Linked DNA regions of Homo sapiens: all the other regions are linked to region 3. Evidence: promoter capture Hi-C in 16 types of primary human blood cells and fetal thymus (Javierre and others, 2016). All regions are on one chromosome and are shown on one strand. The core of a region is centred on a gene start or on the middle of the fragment in contact, and the rest is flanking DNA. Distances in the headings are between cores, read along the strand shown. Region 1 has its middle 330 kb from the start of PRORY. Region 2 overlaps LOC105377225 (a long non-coding RNA gene). Region 3 holds the start of EIF1AY (eukaryotic translation initiation factor 1A Y-linked). Region 4 has its middle 150 kb from the start of KDM5D.

Region 1 (3,283 bases), core at 659-3,158, 540 kb after region 3:
ATTGATTCCTTTTTCAGAATTTTTGCTGTTGGCATGTAGAAATGTTATTGATTATTGATTTTGTATCTTCCAACTTTACTGAATTTGCTTGTCACTTGTAACAGTCTTTTGGTGTAGACTTCAGTTTTTTCCAACTATAAGAGTATATCATCTGCAAAGAAAAACAATTTGACTTCTTTCTTTTCAATTTGGATAGGCTCCATTATTTCTCATCTAATTTTACTTGCTAGGGCCTCCAGTATGATGTTGAATAACAGTGATAAAAGTGGCATGTTGGTCTTGTCTTTGATCTCATCTTGTTTAAGATCTTGGAAAAAACACTTTCAGTTTTTCCCTATGCAGTGTGATATTAGTGGTGAGTCTGTCACATATGGTTTTTATTGTATTGAGGTATGTTTCTTCTATGCTCAGTTTTTTGAGGATCTTAGTCATAAACAGATAATGCACTTCATCAAATAATTTTCAGAATCAATTGAAAAGATTGTATAATTTTGGGGGGTTGTTTTTCATCTTGTTGGTAAGATTTATCACATTGACTGATTTGCATATGTTGAAGAATCCTTGCATCCATTGGATAAATCTCACTTTGTCATGATGAACAATCTTTTAAATGTATTGTTGAATTATGTTTTTTCTTAGCAATTTTTAAGCATATAATTTGTTATTTTTTACTATAGTCATCATGTTCTATGATAGATCTCTTGAGCTTATTCATTCTGCCTAACTTAACAATTATATGTTGTTTGATCAGCATTTCCCCACTTCTCCCCCATCCTAGGCCTCTGGTAACCAGAATTTTACTTTAAAATTTTTGCATTTTAAAACTAAAAATGTTAATGCACGAAAAATTGTATACAAGGTTAAGGTATAATACCATGTTTTGCCCTCTCTCTTTCTCTCTCTCTGTGTATATACACACATCTCTCTATATATGTTGTTAAATGAATAAATCAGGCTAATTGGGTAAAAACATTTAAAATCTATTATTTTAGCTATTTTGAAATATATGTTCCTCACTATAGTCACTATACTATGCAATAGATCTCTAAAACTCATCTGCACTGACTAACTGAAACTTTGATGAACTCCTTCCCATTCTTCTCCCCACCCATCTCTCCCAGCCTCTGGTAACCACTGCTTTACTCTCTACTTCTACAAGCTCAAACTTTTCAGTCTACATATAAGTGATATCATGTAATATTTATCTTTCTGTACCTTGCTTACTTTACTTAATATAACCTCCTTTTTTGTTCATCACATTGTAAAAAATGGCAAGATTTTCTCATATTTTAAGGTTGAAGAGTATTTCTTATATTTTAGGGTTGAAGAGTATTACATAGGTTGATTCTGTATTTTGGCTATTGTGAATAATGCTACAATGAACATGAGACAGCAGATATATTTTCCACATATTGATATCATTAGCCTTTGGAGATATCTAATAAGGACATTGCTGGATTATATTATAGTTCTATTTTTAATTTATTGAGATATGTCTATACAGCTTTCCACTGTGGCTGCACTAATTTATATTCCCACCAAGAGTACAAGGGTTTTCTTTCCTCCACATTGTCACCAACATGTTATTATTTGTGTGTGTTTTTAATCATAGTCTTTCTAACAGACATGAGGTGATATCTCACTATAGTTTTAATTTGTGTTTCCTTGATGATTAGGATTACTGATGTTAAACATATTTTTACATGTGTTAGCCTTTTTATTTGTTTTTTGTTTTGTTTTGTTTTTGAGACAGGCTCTTGCTTTGTCACCCATTCTGGAGTGCAGTAGCATGATCTCAGCTCACCGCAACTTCTGCCTTCTGGTTCCAAGCAAGTTTCCACCTCAGCCTCCTGGGTAGCTGAGACTACAGGCATGAATGACCATGCCTAATTTTTCTATTTTTTTCATGGAGACAAGGTTTCATAATGTTTGCCAGGCTTGTCCTAAACTCCGGACCTCAAGTAATCCACCCACCTTGGCCTCCCACAGTGCTGAAATTACAGGCCTGTGCCACTGCACCCAACCCTGAATTTCTGAAATAATGTTAAAGACTTTGACTAGATCTCTCTTCTTATCCAGAAATTTTTATTTCAAATCCTGTGAGATAGTTTGAAAAATGGGCCCTCCAAAGATATTAACTTTTTACTCTTTCTCCCTGTAATGGTTCCTTATTGCTAAAAGGTCTTTACAGTTACAATGAAGAATCTTGAAATGCAAGATTATCCTGGATTATCCATGTGTACCCTGGATGCCACAATGACTTTTCTTGTGAAAGAGAAAAGATTCCCTTGTCCCACACACAGGGCATGTGACAGGGGGAGTGCTCACTTCTTCAGTGCCCCCACTGCTCATATCTCTAAGGGAGCATACAGATGAACCAGTTGTGGAATTCTGACCCCACAGCAGCATCTAGGGTTGAATTTTTACAGCTCCTGAAGCCCCAGTGAGCATGTGCTACTATGTAAATTTTCAGTTTTGCCATCTATTGGTAACTTGTGTTGGTAGTTTGTGTTGACCAGCTCACTTAGACCCTCTACCTTGTCACAAGGACAGAGGGCTTTCTGTATCTCAGGTTCTCATCTTGGTGTACCAGAAGAATTGAATCACACCTGGACTTGGAGAATGAGTGCAAGGTTTTATTGAGTGGAGGTAGCTCTCAGCAGATGGGGAATGCCAGAAGACGATGGAGTGGAAAGGTTTTCCCAGGAGTCTCGCCGTTCAGAGACCCAGAATCTCCTACTACCTGGGCCAAACTTCACATTGTTCTAATGTTTGATGGCATTCTGGCATGCCAATGCCTGTCAGTGTGCTGTCAATGTCCTCTCAATATCTATTCACTTGTGTGTTCCTCCACTGGTGTGTTTCTGTTGATGTCCAGCCACTTGTACATCTCTGCCTGCTAGGGTTTCAGGGTTTTTACAGGCACAGGATGGGGGCATGGTGGGCCAGAGAGGTCTTGAGAAATGTAACATTTGGGAGCAAAGGCAAGATTTCTTGTTTTCACCTAGGTCAATGGGCATAGCCTCAGAGCTAGAGCCCTCACCAGATACCCACCCTTCTTTACCCAGAACTTCTCTTCCCCTATTTCATGTCACTTATAAAAGAGAGACATAGGGGCTCACATAACACAAACACAGAGAAAAAGTGATGTAAAAATAATACCCAAAGCTGAAGTATGCAGCCACAAGCCAAGGAATGGCAACAGGCACAAGATGGTAAAGAGAAATGGAATGAATTCTTTCCTAGAGCCTCTGAAAGGAGCACAGTCATGCCAGCACCTTGA
Region 2 (3,149 bases), core at 171-2,670, 570 kb after region 3:
TTCTTTCTTTCCTTCCTTCCTTCCTTCCTTCCTTCCTTCCTTCCTTCCTTCCTTTCCTTCCTTCCTTCTTTCTTTCTTTTTTTTTTTTTTTGACAGAGCCTTGCTCTGTCACCCTAGCTGGAGTGGAGTGGCATGACCTCGGCTCACTGCAACCTCTGCCTCCTGAGTTCAAGCAATTCTCCTGTCTCAGCCATCCAAGTTGCTGGGACTAAAGGCACATGCCACCACATCTGGCTAATTTTTTTGTATTTTTAGTAGAGATAGGGTTTCACTATATTGGTCAAGCTGGTCTTGAACTCCTGATCTCAGATGATCTGCCTGCCTAGGCTTCTAAAAGTGCAGGGATTACAGAAGTAAGCCACCGCACCCGACCAATTTTTTTTTTTTTTTCACCTGGAGGCTATCAAGCTCCAAATGGTAATGCAAATAAAATGAGACATCAACAAGCCTTTTATTTGAGGCACCTTAAATCAGCCCCTGAAGGAGTCTTAGCTGCTGTTTTCCCACACAACACCCCTCTTCGGCTGGAATTACTCAGAAATCAATATCCAATCTCCCCAACAGCAGTTAGAGTTTCCACTCCTAAAAGGAGAATGAGGTAGAAGAAAAGAAAGATAATTCTGGAAAAACATGAGCTGTACCTGCAACAGATAAGAAACTTTATATAATTAGCAAACTCCCAGGAAAATGTTTCCTCCCCTTTTCAAGCACATACATAGTGGTAAATTGCACAGTGAGGAGGCAGGCTAATTGAAAACAAACCAATAGTTATACAAACAAAAGAAGTGGTGCTTTGTGTTTGCCTAGAGATATTTCCACAGCTGCATAAGATAAGGGGAGTGGCACAGAGAACTTAACTGGTAAAAGAAGTTACTCAAACTGCTACAGAGATGAGAGGCATATCTTATGAAAGTTTTTGAATGCAGCTGTATCTGGCAATTCACTTGGACTCCCTTATCTGCTGTGAAGAGCTTCATTTATTTCACTTATCAAACTTTCACTCCAACCCTATCTTTGTGTCAATGTTCCCTAAGTTTCCTGGATGTAGGACAAAAACCTGGGGTACTAATAGAGACAAAGAGAAAATCCTACATTAAGGTGCTTTGGTGAGACAGCAACCGTGTTTTATAGGAATAGTTGGGCAGTTCTCTTTTCACTGAAATAGATTTTTCATAGCAAATAGACTTTACAATGGTAGTATCTGGCCCACTAAGCTGATTTATTTCTCAGGAATTCTGTGTATTTGAAATATATGTATACTCAGTGATTATTAAGTAATGAGCTGTGGGTTTCACATTAATTCAAAAAAGCTCTGAAAATATGTAGCATTTAAAATTAAGAAATTTGTCCTTATTGTGACTTTTTAAAATAGAAGAAGCAACTATATACTGTAGCCAATCTTTTCTTTTAATGGTGGAAGTTAAGCCATTTACATTTAAAATACTTTTTGATAGGTGTGGCTTTATTCTATCATCTTGTTAAGTTTTTGATATTTTTGTATGTCTTTGTATACCATTTTTAATGCTTATCTTTGGAATGTTGTGTTTGTCCATAGTGATAAAATGTGATTCATTTTTTATTTCTCACTTCTGTATCTTTTCTTCTAAGAAGTGTTAGTTTAAAGTATTTCCATAATGGTAGATGTAGACCATTTACTTCAGATGCAGGAATTCTTTCTAAATTTCTAGCAGAAAATACTTCATTTATTTTTATTTCTGAATGATAGTTTTGCAATGTGTAGAATTCTAAGTTGATTTTTTTTTTCACTCAGCTTCTTGGTAATACCTTTCCTTTATGTTCTTCCCTTTAAATTTTCTGCTGAAAAATTAGGTCTTAGTTCAATAAGGGAAGTTCTTATATTTGACTTGACACTTCTTTTGTGTTTTAAAAATGTGTTGTCTTTTGCTGGATGGTTAGACTATAATTCACATCAAGATAAATGTTTTGTGGTTAAATTTATTTGTGATTTCTGGAGCTTTCCATATCTGTATGTCTACATTTTCTCCAGTATTTGGACTGCTTTTAGTTATAATATTATTAAATAAGATTTTATGTTTTTTATCCCCAATATTTGAATATCTTTATGTTCTCTTGTATGTCACTTGGACTTTCTTCTATATTTAATTTTTCTGTTTGTGTATAATATCACTTTTTAAAATTGTCCTCAAATTTTGTGTTTATTTTATTTCCTCTGCTTTATTTAGTGTATTTCTGAGTATCCTGTTTGCATTTTTTATTATTGTTTTAAAAATATCTCTTTTGCTCCCTTACAAACAAGTGCTCACTGCTGCAAAGAAGAACAAGCACACAGGCAAAAAGTTTTCCCAGCAAGGTAATTTGCTTCTGCAGAAGGTTGCTGCCTACCTCAGTCACAATTGCAAGAGCACCCCGAATAAAACAGAGAAGGGATTTTTATCCGTAATACAGTTCCTGTCCCTGTGTCCTTCCCTTATTGGCTGGGATTGAACTGCACAATCTAAACTGATTTGGGTTGGCTAAGAATTAAACTTTTCTAAATGGGGCAAATGCACAATTTGTAAGAGAAGAAGCAGGTAGGAGGGATCTGTTTGTTGCAGTACAAGGCATGTCTGAACATGTCTGGGCATGGCAGGGTGCAACTGGAGTGGGAGGGTGGTTTGCAGGCTGGAAACAAGAGTACAAGGAGGTTAGGATTTTGAACAAAGGAAAATAACATTACGCAATTAAACCTTTTGAAGAGGAAATTATCATTCCTAACAATTTCCCCATTTGTCTTTTGACAATTCTTCCTCTTCAAGTTTTTGTAGCATGATTTAGCCTTGTTTCTCCTCTTGATCATATAGGGACAAGAGCTTCTCTGAGTATTGAGGAAGAGGGATAGGGGAGGGTTATGTGAGAGCTGTTTCTGTAAGTCTTGACATTATCTCACAGATACAGGGTATGATGCAGCATCCTACAAAAATGAGTACACTTATGACAATTAAAAGACAGGTTAATATTGAAGACATAAGCCCTTTCCATTTACCGAATCTCCTTTTGATGAGGTTTGTGAAGGGGTCATTTCTTCCAGAATTTTTGGCTAACTCATCTGACAAGGAGATAAGGCCTTGTAAGGCCATTGTAATTGTTCCATCAAGGGCTGTGTTGTTAGGGATAAAAGTACAGCATTT
Region 3 (3,028 bases), core at 457-2,956:
TTGTCTATCTTGAAGACTACCTTGATGCTTAGCTATATAAAAGGCGAGATTTGTTTTTGACTTTGTAATCTCTTGGTTGATTTTCTACAATGTACATTAAATTCATATTTCATATTTTTAACAGTAAAACTGATTTCATTCTCTACTGTCTTTGTGGAGAGGACTTCTGGGTTCAGAGAAAATTTTATTTTTAATGTTATGGCTTCATCACTAGGCTTTTAAAAACAAAACCATGAAGACTTAAATTCCTTAAAACCAGTAGTGATGATCAGGGTACTACCACTTACCTTGCAGAAAAAAAGAAAGAAAAAAAAAGGATTAGGAGGATACTACACTATGTATATGATGGCCAATTATATGCCCAACAAGTAAGATAATTTAGAATAAATGAACAAAGTCCTGATACATACATACTATTTACCTTGCAGAAAGGGAAAAAAAAGGATTAGGAAGATACTATACTTTGTATATGATGGCCAATTATACGCCCAACAAGTTTTATAATTTAGAATAAATGAACAAATTTCTGGTACATACAAACTACCAGAACTGACTTGGGAATAAATACAGCACGAATTCATAATCCAAACTAAGGCCTAGGACCATTTAAAAAATTTACATCAATCCTCGAATGTGTCCAAAAACACAGAAGAAAAAGGGACACTACACAGTTCATTCTGTGAAGCCGGGATTATATTGATCCTAAAGTCAAAGTCATCACACGATACAAGCCAATATATCTTAACACAGATGCTAAGATTCTAAACATAATAGTACACACACAACAAATCCAGTAAATTAAATGATTGTATACCATAATCAAATGGAATTTGTCTTGAAATAATTTGACCTCCACAGCCAGTCCATTTGAGACATTCGGTTAAGCCATGATTTATTATAAGATTCAGATGCTTAGTCTCACTCCTTCCTATGTATATTTACTTTCCATTTCCTGTATATATTTACTGTCTACTTTTTGTCAGTATTCCGCTGGGTGCTAGCAATTGTAAGCAACAGATGCGGCCTCTGTACTTACATGCTTTACTGTGAGGTGGTGAGGTAGAGAAGATAAGACTGAAAAAAATAGGCCGGGCGCGGTGGCTCACTACTGCAATCCCAGGAATTTGGGCGGCAGAGGCGGGAGGATCACTAGGTCAGGGGTTTGAGAGCCTGGCCAACATGGTGAAACCCCATCTCTACTAAAAATACAAAAATTAGACGGGCAGATCGCGCCCCTGCACTCCAGCATGGGCAACAAGAGCGAAACTTCGTTGTCAAAAAAAAAAAAAAAAAAGAGAGAAAAGTGATAAACATTCTGAACATAGAGGGCCTTGTCCTAAGCCAGTCCTCCAAATTCACTGTATAAGAGTAAGGGCTCTCTTAAAATTTAGGCGTTTACAGTTAAATGACCCACGAACTTCTGAAACTGGAAGACCGTTTTTTAGCAAAGGAGAATACTCCAGGGCCCCGCCCATTTCATCCTTGACTCCACCTTCTCCATGCTGAGTCCCGCCCCGCTTCCTGTTTATTCATCCTGCAGCAAACTCTCCGGTATCCTGATGGAGTCTACTAGGTGTCAGTCATTTGGCCGTGCCTCAGCCGAAGAGAGGCGGGGAAAAGCATCGTAATCAGCTGCGTCGCCTTTTGGTGACGCCAGAGAGTGCGCGTCAGCAGTTTATTAGAGAGCTCTGTAGCCAGCCTCTTCTGCGCACCCACCTGCTGCATCTTAGTTCAGTCGGCTCTTAGAGTAGTAACCGCCAGAAAGGAGTCGGAAGAGGTCTCACGAGGCTGTCATCACCGCCATGCCCAAGAATAAAGGTACTGCTGTAAGCCTCTGGGACTATACCTCGGCTTGCTCTGCCAGTAACCCCGACGCCTGTTCCAGGCCGCAGTGACTGTTCTAACGGCGGTACTGGCCACTGCGACCCCAGCACTGTGTTCGGGAAAGGAGCTGGGAATGCCCTATTTGGTCACATTGGGGTGGGACAGACGCCATTTTTGTGGGGCCTCCTTCGGAAGATAGCGGGCTTTTGCTGCTGATTTCACGCCAGACGGAAAACGTATAGGTAGGGACGGTTGAGGGACCTTAACCGGACGGCCTGGCTTTCCAGAATAGGCACATGCAAACACTTCCCTGCTACTTTCCTGGAAGCGGTTCTTAACTTTGAAGACTTACCTATCTGGACAGTTAAAAGTATTGCTAAGGATACTCCCTTTTCCTTGTTAAACAGTGGGGAAGCCTTGAAGCATGTTTAGGTTCATTTCTGGCGTTTTACTCTACCCCATCCCTTTATAGAGTGTAACATTCTTTTGCAGAAGATTTGTTACCTATTTAGGCAGGTTTTCAACTTCCGTATCCGATAAATATTGTGGGAGTAAAGATATCAACGTTCCCTTCATTCTGAGGCTAAACTTTCACACGAAACTTAGACTTGAAAATAAGTTTACTCACAGCTTCTAAAGTAGGAGGTCTAACCTCGGTAGAACCCTTTCTCAGTCATTTCTGAAAGAAATTCTCGTTTTTATACACCTGAGGTAATCTCTCACTTTTAGTGCCCTTGTAATTGCTTGAAGAAAACTGTAGGTGGAAACAAAATATTATTTTCCACAGGAGGGGACCATGTTTTATAGTCCACAAAAACTCTGTTTAGATTATTCCTTCCTGGGACCCAGACCAATTTGTCTTCTTTTTACTTGCCTGTTGGCAGCATGGAATCTGTTTCATTTTCTCTTTTTAGCTGTCACGACACACAGCTCTTGAGGTACTTGGTGACAGTACAGTGCAGTCTTTCCTGGGCATTACTCTTTGCTCTCCCGAAAACCCACTAACGGGTTGTGTGTATAATAAGGTTTTATTTTATTTTATTTTATTTTTTACTGCAAAATTATTGGAGGATAAAGTGTATTCTGGGAGAAGTCTAATTAGAAAGAGTTAGCAAAGGCTTATGCTTTTTCACTAACATTTTCTCAGATGGTACTGAACAACTTCAGTAGGTATCTTGTTCTCACCTTTATTTCTAGTGATGAG
Region 4 (3,240 bases), core at 19-2,518, 980 kb before region 3:
GATACAGAACTTTTTGAAGAATCATGGGAAATTTTTATAATTAAATAAATGCTAAAATTCTGTTTTGTGAAACATTTATGGGAATTATCACTGACAGTTTTTGTACACTTTCAAATAGTGTTAAAGCAGCAACTCCATGTTGTAAATGCACAAAACAAATATTTAGTTAATAATCAACTCCAAGAATAAAGCTGTAACAATAATAGTTACTATTCTCTCATGTGGTCCATATTTACCTCCACTTAGCTGGCATCTTCAAGTGCCACATACTTAGCAGCAGCCTGGCACCTTCTGATATTTTGAGAAGCAGGAATCCCTGAGCATAAATGTAAATAGCTTAGAACTGTCCAAAAGCAAAGACAGCAGAAAATAAAATTGTTGCTTGCTATGTTCAGGAAAGGAATGCTTCCATTGGATATGGAAGCCAGTCTCAATTGTTACATCAGCCTGAGGAAACTCATGCGAGAAATGCCAGAAAAAGAAGACAGCAACAAAGAAGATAAAAGAAAGACTGACAAAAGCATTGAATTTCTGGTAGAAAAAGCAGTGTACTAGAAGGTTAGGAGATTTCCTAGCTGTCAGCCATGAAAGGGTTGGGGAAGAAAGAGCAATTTGGTTGCATACTGTAGCATGGTCATCTAGGGTGGTCCTCAAACACATAGAAATCACACAAGAATTGTCAAATTGAAGATTTGGATTTAGTAGATCTGAAAACGCACTTTGTAAAATTGGCCACAGTAGAGGTGGAAGTGACTGAAATACTGCATTATTTATTTATTTAATTAATTTATTTTAGTCAGAGTCTTGCACTGTCGCTAAGGCTGGTATACCATGGTTCAGTCACAGTTCACTACAGTCTTGAACTCCTAGGCTCAAACAATTCTCCTGTATCGGCCTCCTGAGTACCTGGCACTACAGACATGCACAAGCATGCATGGCTAATTTTAAAAAAATTTTTGTAGAAATGGAGTCATGAACTCCTGGGCTCAAGTGATCCTCCCACCTCAACTTCCCAGAGTGTTGAGTGAGATTACAGTTATGAGCCACCATCCCTGGCCAATAAAGGTGTTTTTAATACCTATAAGAATATTGCCTGCAAGGATGTTTGATAGGTTTCTTGATATTTCATTCTCTCTTGAAATGTTTGCTTCGTCAATTTTTTATTTTTCATAAAAGCTTTACTCAAGAATTAGGATGACCACTATGTTATCTAGTAGTATAATTTGGAATCATTTATTATAAATCTGAAACTGACTTGACTGATGAATCTTGAGCACTGCTTATTGTGTTCTAATTTTGGTAGCTGTTTCAATAAAGTAGCTCTTGTAGAATAGGAAAACTATATCATTTTAGTCTGAAATAAGCTTTTGATTAAAAGGTTACTTTTTCCTATTAATAAAAAATGGAGATTAAGATTGCTTTTCTTGCTACACAAAATTATTTACATACTTTCCTGTCACTAGAAAAGAGGGGAACATAAAATGTTCCATGGCTGTAATTGCAGTGCTTAGAGCTATAACTCAGATTACTATACTTCCTAAATGTAAAGTGGTTATTAATTTTAGCTGGAGGAAAGCAGGAATGTTCAGAGGCAAATGAAGATTCTGCAGAATAAGCAAGCTCAGATTGTCAAAGAGAAAGTTCACTTGCAGAGTGAATACAGCAAGACCATCTTGGCAAGAAGCAAGCTAGAATCTCTTTGCAGGGAACTTCAGCAAAATTAATGTCAAAATAAGACATTAAAGGTTAGTTGGTTTATTTTACTGTATTTCAGGAACTACTTAGGCTGCTTTTATAATCGCCTTGTAACTACTTGAAATAAATTCTTGCTCTATGTCTTTTAATGGGAATTAGTTGCTATAATGGCTTCTTGTTAACTGGCTCAGGTACACTTGTGCTGGTAGATCAGATTCCTAAGCAGACAACTTTGTAGACATCTTAACACAGAGATCCCTTGCTTTTTGTTTTGCTTGAGCTGATGCTGCCTGTGAGGTAACTCTCTAAAGACTCACTCTATGTAAATTTTGGTTTCAGATTCAAGGATAAGCTCTACCTTAGTCTACTGTATACTTGATCACAGGGAATCTAGATGACATTGGTTTTTATGTTCACAGCTCTCCTGCTTAAAAAGCTCACAGTTGCCAGATATTTTTGTTGGCTTTTGGTGTAGTTGGTTATCATGTCCTTTTTTGGTAATGAGTGAAAATCTTAGCTGAAATGAAGAAACTGGTAGCCATAGTCAGTGTGAGTTTGAGAAAGAAAAACACACTGTAGAGCTCTACTATAAAAGTTAATAGGATAGATTGTTAAACTACATTCTGCCATCTTTGGCTATTTGGTTGCTAAATACTTTAGAATATTACTTACAGCTAGGCTGATTATAACAGAAGAAGGATTAAGTATGACAGCTTGTCTCAATAATGGAAGTAAAAAGCAGAGATCCTGGAAAGAATCTGCCATCCATCAGAGGAATTTGTCTGACTTTGTGGTATTGCTAGGGGGTGTATGGTTGGAGTATTATTTTGATGGTGCTGGATCACCCTCATCACAGTAAACTCAAGAACATAGGACAGCTTGTGAAATAGGTTCTTACTTGTAAGGTTTGTATTTATTTTTCTTGCTTTTGAAATCTTGGATTTAAATATAATAAAAGTAGATAGCACTGTCAATATTTAGACTGTACTGATAACTGTTTAGGTAAAGGTCTGTTGACACTTGTATCCTAGTAAGACTTTGAAAGTAAACTTTGTAAAATAATGATTTAGTTTGTCCCTTCCCTCTTATAAAATTGAAAGTGTAACTCAGAAAGTAGGCTGTAAGATCTTCAGGCTGATGTAGGATGGTATACTGCCTAACCAGTGAGGATGACTTTTGGGAAAATAATGTGGAAGAAACTAACTGTGGAGCAGCATCTTACTTATATTTAATTATAGTATAGTGAATATCTGGATCAGCAGATGATACTTATTTTATAGTAGGGCATTTGCTTTTCTCTAATTATCTACTTAGAAAAAGCTGCTTGCTTTTAAATGAGAGATTTCTGGTCATAAATAAGGGGGAGGAATTATAGTTTAAAAGCAACACCTCATGGGAGCAATAAATGAACTCACATAGCAGTAGCTTCTTTTTCGCGAGCTTTATCTGTAGGTCTGTACTTTTAACATACATTATTTTGGATAATAAGGAGGAACATATGCAGCAGAAAAAAGAGGAGGAAGAAGTTCTTAAAGAAGTAACTGC

Evidence for each region. The method cuts DNA at HindIII sites, captures the fragments that hold promoters and counts their contacts. A CHiCAGO score of 5 or more calls a contact.
Region 1: a fragment that was not itself captured here is called in contact with the fragment with the promoter of EIF1AY in region 3 in 1 of 17 cell types (neutrophils); the score reaches 5.3 in neutrophils.
Region 2: a fragment that was not itself captured here is called in contact with the fragment with the promoter of EIF1AY in region 3 in 1 of 17 cell types (neutrophils); the score reaches 5.5 in neutrophils.
Region 4: a fragment that was not itself captured here is called in contact with the fragment with the promoter of EIF1AY in region 3 in 1 of 17 cell types (fetal thymus); the score reaches 5.7 in fetal thymus.

What each region holds. Positions count from the first base shown.
Region 1 is chrY:21,115,717-21,118,999 of GRCh38, forward strand. No RefSeq gene overlaps it. Among named protein-coding and RNA genes, the nearest start is that of PRORY, 330 kb to the right of the region's middle. The HindIII fragment of the contact is 6,496 bases long and covers 1-3,283 here.
Region 2 is chrY:21,149,311-21,152,459 of GRCh38, forward strand. It overlaps LOC105377225 (a long non-coding RNA gene), which reads left to right. Exons shown (of 7, transcript XR_007068465.1): 5 at 2,279-2,332. Among named protein-coding and RNA genes, the nearest start is that of PRORY, 300 kb to the right of the region's middle. The HindIII fragment of the contact is 3,974 bases long and covers 1-3,149 here.
Region 3 is chrY:20,574,070-20,577,097 of GRCh38, forward strand. EIF1AY (eukaryotic translation initiation factor 1A Y-linked) reads left to right here and starts at 1,707. Exons shown (of 7, transcript NM_004681.4): 1 at 1,707-1,818. The coding sequence starts at 1,803. TTTY10 (testis expressed transcript, Y-linked 10) reads right to left here and starts at 1,446. Exons shown (of 10, transcript NR_197944.1): 1 at 1,037-1,446. The HindIII fragment of the contact is 11,947 bases long and covers 1-3,028 here.
Region 4 is chrY:19,590,215-19,593,454 of GRCh38, forward strand. It overlaps the pseudogene TXLNGY. Among named protein-coding and RNA genes, the nearest start is that of KDM5D, 150 kb to the right of the region's middle. The HindIII fragment of the contact is 188 bases long and covers 1,175-1,362 here.